2 separate regions of the Homo sapiens genome follow, and region 2 is linked to region 1. The links are contacts of gene promoters, found by promoter capture Hi-C in blood cells and fetal thymus (Javierre and others, 2016). All regions are on one chromosome and are shown on one strand. The core of a region is centred on a gene start or on the middle of the fragment in contact, and the rest is flanking DNA. Distances in the headings are between cores, read along the strand shown. Region 1 holds the start of TAF13 (TATA-box binding protein associated factor 13). Region 2 overlaps ELAPOR1 (endosome-lysosome associated apoptosis and autophagy regulator 1).

Evidence for each region. The method cuts DNA at HindIII sites, captures the fragments that hold promoters and counts their contacts. A CHiCAGO score of 5 or more calls a contact.
Region 2: a contact is called between a fragment that was not itself captured here and the fragment with the promoter of TAF13 in region 1, in 2 of 17 cell types (M2 macrophages and M0 macrophages). The highest score is 8.3, in M2 macrophages.

The regions. Positions count from the first base shown.
Region 1 is chr1:109,074,567-109,077,496 of GRCh38, forward strand. It overlaps TAF13 (TATA-box binding protein associated factor 13), which reads right to left and starts at 1,437. Exons shown (of 4, transcript NM_005645.4): 1 at 1,355-1,437; 2 at 421-499. The coding sequence starts at 1,381. RefSeq lists enhancers at 1-680, 1,285-1,344, 1,445-1,694. The HindIII fragment of the contact is 13,771 bases long and covers 1-2,930 here.
Region 2 is chr1:109,196,655-109,199,515 of GRCh38, forward strand. ELAPOR1 (endosome-lysosome associated apoptosis and autophagy regulator 1) reads left to right here. Exons shown (of 22, transcript NM_020775.5): 16 at 820-1,000; 17 at 1,325-1,421; 18 at 1,919-2,020. Among named protein-coding and RNA genes, the nearest start is that of SARS1, 16 kb to the right of the region's middle. RefSeq lists an enhancer at 683-1,882. The HindIII fragment of the contact is 6,896 bases long and covers 1-2,861 here.

The DNA.
Region 1 (2,930 bases), core at 187-2,686:
GATCAATAAATACTAAAAAAATTAAAAAAATAAAATAAAGCAAAATAAAAACACACAAAAAAAATTAGGTGGGCGTGGTGGCCGGCGCCAGTAGTCCCAGCTACTCAGGAGGCTGAGGCAGGAGAATGGCATGAACCCGGGAGGCGGAGCTTGCAGTGAGCAGAGATTGCGCCACTGCACTCCAGCCTGGGCGACAGAGCGAGACTCCGTCTCAAAAAAAAAAAAAAAGCAATTTATACACACACACACAATTGGGGTTAGGATTGGTACTATCTGATTCAAAAGTTAAACAGAATTTGATAGGCTAGTCTGAGAATATTATCCCTACAGGGAAACATTCAAAGCAATAAAGCTACTTTGAAAGGACATGTCCAAAAGTTTTCATCATCTATAACAAAATCATTGTCAAATACTACTTACATTCTTTAGAAAAAAGTCTCTTTCTTTTACCCTGTCCACCTTCTGCACCTCCTCCAATTTCTTCATTTTCTTCCTCAAACTAGAAGTTAAAATGTATATATAGAAATGTCAAATAATTGCCTTGCATTTGATATTTTAATAATGACATTTTTTTTTCCTTTTCAACAGATAGGCCAGAAAGCCAAAGGAAGCAGCAAAAAAAAAAACCACGAAACCTTAGCATTGAAGGAGCCTATGTATCTAGTCCAACTTCCAACTCATGCAAAAATGGCTTCTACAATGTTCCTAACTAATAATCCTACTGCTTCTACTTGTAAGAGTTCCAATGACCATAAGTTTTATTTTTAAACAACTAAGGTGGCCTATTACTACTGTTACTGTTAAACAGTTGATACTGAATCAAAGTCTACCTTTGTAGACTTTGTAGTAAGCAAAACTAATATTTCCTATGCATTTGCTTATACAGTGCTAAAAACGTTCCTTAAGTAAGCCCGTAACCCTATTTTATAAAAAGAAAACTGATGTTCAAAGTTAAATAACTTGCTCAGAGAGAATGGAAATTTTGAAATCCAGGCTGTCTGACTTTCAATGCATTCTTTTCCCATTACTTCACAGTAAGTACAGTTTTGTTAACAATTGAACTGTTGGCTCATAGTGCGCGCTAATAGATGTTAGTTTTGATCTCTGATGATTCTGTACGTGTTTCAGTGTCTGGCAAATACAGACCAAAATCAAGGGGAAAGGGGTCACAAAACCTACTCTTCCTTCATGTCCTTCCCCACTTTCTAAAATGATCAATCCTTAGGGCGTGAAGTCCCCGAACTCTGTCCGCTGAATTCACTAAGGCAAGCAGACCCGATCCTGAACTCTGCCTCCGCTACTGAGCCCGAAGGAGTGAAGAAAAGACAGGTTTTGGACAGAGACGGTCACTCACCGTGGGGTCTTCTTCCTCATCTGCCATCCCACTAGCACGCCAACTCACAGCGTCCTGCCGGCTGGCTCCCAGCTGGTTACACTACTTCCGCCGCCTCACTTCCGGTGACGCGCGGGGCCGTAGCTGGGCCTAGCCCTCTGCGGCCTGCGGGAGGACGGTGGTGCTTTCCGGCCTAGCGGCGGAAATGCGACAGTCTCTAAGGGAGGAGGCCGGAGCGCCTCCCTGTAATCCCGAAGGAATTGAAAACTAACAAAGAAAAGGAAATCACGGGCTAGGTCGCGAGTATCTCGTTGTCACCCTGAATTTGCTACTGCGTATTGAATCACAGCTTCTTGTTTGGGGACTGCGAAGCTATGGATCATAGGAGGGCAAGCCAGCAGTCCTTTATCAGACAAATATGCTTTTAAATCATTTTAAAGATTTGTAGTTCCACTGTTTCTAAGCACTGTGTTAATTATTGGGGATACTGTGCTTCATCACAAATTTCCAAGAGATGGTGTCCCGAGACTAAGCATTTAAAATTTTGTGAAGGTTTTTTGATTTTTTTTTTTTTTTTTTTTGAGACGAAGTCTCACTCTGTCGCCCAGGCTGAAGTGTGCAGTGGCGCGATCCCGGCCCACTGCAACCTCTGCCTCCCGGGCTCAAGTGATTCTCCTTCCTCAGCCTCCCGAGTAGCTGGGATTACAGGCGTGCGCCACCATGCCCGGCCTTATTTTTGTTTTTTTGAGACACAACCTCACTGTCCCCCGGGATGGAGTGAAGTGGCGCAATCAGGGTTCACTGCAGCCTAGACCTGCTGGGCTCAAGCCATCCTCCCACCTCAGCCTCCAAGTAGCTGGGATTACAGGCGCACACCACCAATGCCCAGCTAATTTTTGTATTTTTAGTAGAGATGGGGTTTCCCCACATTGCCCAGGCTGGTCTGGAACTCATGGCCTCAAGCGATCTGCCCCGCTCTGCCTCCCAAAGTGCTGGGATTACAAGTGTGAGCCACCGTGTCCACCGGGGAAGGCTTTTGGTCAGAACAATGGCTGGCAAAACCACAGGCATCGGAAGGCCAGAGCTAGGGATATAATATAAATGTCCCTACAGTGTAACAGATGATGCTACATAAAGAAAATCCCGTAATACACACGATTTCTGAATGTCCTGCTGAACATTCGGTGAGTGAAAACTAATTATCTGAGAGTTGAACCTATCTTTGTTAATAAACACAAAGCGGCCGGGCGCAGTGGCTCACGCCTGTAATCCCAGCACTTTGGGAGGCCGAGGTGGGCGGATCACAAAGTCAGGAGATCAAGACCATCCTGGCCAACATGATGAAACCCCGTCTCTATTAAAAGTACAAAAATTAGCTGGGCGTAGTGGCGCACGCCTGTAATCCCAGCTACTCGGGAGGCTGAGGCAGGAGAATCGCTTGAACCCGGGAGGCAGAGGTTGCAGTGAGCCGGGATTGTGCCACTGCACTCCAGCCTGGTGACAGAGCGGGACTCCACCTCAAAAAATAAAAATTAAAAAAATAAACACAAAGCATTTTCCCACACTTTTAATGTACGTTGAAGTTTCTAGGAATGTT
Region 2 (2,861 bases), core at 76-2,575, 120 kb after region 1:
AAAAAAAAAAAGGCTGAGACACCAGATTTAGCACTTTTTTTTTTTTTGAGGTGGAGTCTCACTCTTTTGCCAGGCTAGAGTGCAGTGGCACGATCTCTGCTCACTGCAACCTCCGCCTCCCAGGTTGAAGCGATTCTCCTGCCTCAGCCTCCCGAGTAGCTGGGACTACAGGCATGCGCCAGCACGTCCAGCTAATTTTTGTGTTTTTAGTAAAGACGGGGTTTCACCACGTTGGCCAGGATGGTCTCAATCTCTTGACCTCATGATCCACCTGCCTCGGCCTTCCGAAGTGCTGGGATTACAGGTGTGAGTCACTGCACCCAGCCAGCACCATTTATAATAAAATTTATAACATTGAAAATGTTGACTGGGCACAGTGGCTCACCCCTGTAATCCCAACACTCTGGGAGACTGAGGCAGGAAGATTGCTTGAGCCCAGGAGTTCAAGACCAGCCTGAACAACACAGAGAGGCCCTATCTTTACGAAAAAAAAAAAAAAAAATTAACCTGCGGTTCCAGCTACTTAGGAGGCTGAGGCAGGAGGATCACTTGAGCCCAGGAGTTCAAGGCTTTAGTGAGCTATGATTGCACCATTGCACTCCAGCCCGGGCAATAGATCAAGACTCTGTCTCAAAAAGACAAAACAAAACAAAAAAATCAAATCTGTCTCGTCATTAGACCTGGGATGAATCATTCCCCTACAACATACCATTGAAACGCTGAAAATTTAGATGTAAAAAAGCCTTCCCTATTCCCTTCTGGGAATTCCTCTGTGACCACTCACTTCTTCCTACTTCTTCCTCCCCACTCCCCAACCAGGGTAGGAAAATGTCTGTGTGCACCGACAATGTCACTGACCTCCGGATTCCTGAGGGTGAGTCAGGGTTCTCCAAATCTATCACAGCCTACGTCTGCCAGGCAGTCATCATCCCCCCAGAGGTGACAGGCTACAAGGCCGGGGTTTCCTCACAGCCTGTCAGCCTTGCTGATCGACTTATTGGTGAGTAACTCCGCTGCCTCAGCCTTGTTTGAGAGTGTGTGTGTGTGTGTGTGTGTGTGTATGTGTAAGAGAGTGTGAGGTTACCAGTCTGGGAGGTAAAAGGCCCCACATGAGGGGCCCAACCTCTTGACCTGTGTTTTCTATTCCACTCTGTGTGCAAAGTGCTCCCAGGGACTCTGACAAACCCTTGTTTCACCCTTTCATAAGCCACTCAGGGATGTGATGAGATGAAGTGAGGTTGGATGTTGACAGGTATTGGAAGAATTGAAGTGGTTGCCAGCTAATGCTACTAGTGAGAACTAATTAGGAGCTCTAATTTGGCAGGGGTGACAACAGATATGACTCTGGATGGAATCACCTCCCCAGCTGAACTTTTCCACCTGGAGTCCTTGGGAATACCGGACGTGATCTTCTTTTATAGGTGAAGATGAGAGGCTAGGCTAATGCAAGTGAAACCTAGGACTCCTCCATAATTTCTGCTGCATCCCTCCCTCTCTAGCCACCTACTGCTTATCAAGCCAGAACATGTCTGAGGTCTAGCAGATCTGCCCAGTCATGATAGCTAAGGGCTGGGAGTTCCTGATCCCAGCTTCCTGGATATTACTGGAGCAGATCTGCCCTAGAGGCAAGGAGAAATATTGGATGATCTGCAGTGGACTTCCCTTCCAGCCTAAGCAGGCTCCAGTGTATGCTAGCCATGACTTTCCTAAACCAGGGCATTTCCCCCTTGACTACATATTGTTGATCCCCACCCTTTCCACGTATAAACCAAGGCCTGTGCACTCCCTGTGTGCCAGGCTAAAGCCCAAGTCCTGACTTCCCCAGCAAGGGAATTGCTCCATGCGGATTTCTCTTGGTGGCTGTCCAATAACACAGCTGAGTGACTCATTCCCTCATGGGGGCTGGCTTTCTCTGCAGGTCCAATGATGTGACCCAGTCCTGCAGTTCTGGGAGATCAACCACCATCCGCGTCAGGTGCAGTCCACAGAAAACTGTCCCTGGAAGTTTGCTGCTGCCAGGGTAAGCCCTGCAAAGGGATGTAACAAAGGCCAAAATCTCCCTTGAAGTCATTCCATCCTGAGATCCAGAGATTACTGAAAAAGAGCAAAAAAGAAAAGAGTTTGAGATCCATTAATGGGTGCTTAGGGGCACAGTCATGGCCCCAGACCCTCAGTCTTCATATGGCAAGAATGGGGTAGAAGGAAGAGTGAAAGCTATTCTCATATTCCTGGTCCATTAAGGCAGCAGCTGCGTAGCATGGTAACCAACAGCTCGGCTGAGAGCCAGGTTGAATCATCTCCTCCACTAACCAGCTATGTTATCATGGATGCATTTCTTACCTTCTTTAGGCCTCTTTTTTCCATATCTGTAAAAATGGGCATAATGCTAAATTCCCTCAGCGGGTTGTTTTGAGGATTAAATGAGACAAGGAGACTTTAGGACGTTTCATGATCTCTGGCTATTATGAGGATTAGTAAAGGTTTAGGGATCCTAGGAATCTCTCTGCAACGAAAATACCCAGTTCTGAGGTTAATAGCTGAGTGAACTAAATCAAAAATTTCTAAATGAATATGACCACAGGACACCCCCTCCCCTCCCCGCATAACAGCAGCTAACATCTTGACGGGCACTAGCGTCTTGAGGAAGACGTTTTGGATATGCTGCGCCTAAACTGACTGGGGAGATGGGGAGCAAAGCAGGGCGTCTTGACCCAGTAGTGGTGTCTGAGTGTCAAATCCCTGTTCTTGCCATTGTAAACATCACAGTAAAGTACATAACAGGTATCCATACCGGAAGTTCATTCCTGAACCCCACCTCAACTCCAATCCCACCCCGAGGAAGCTGCATCAAAGTGGCTATT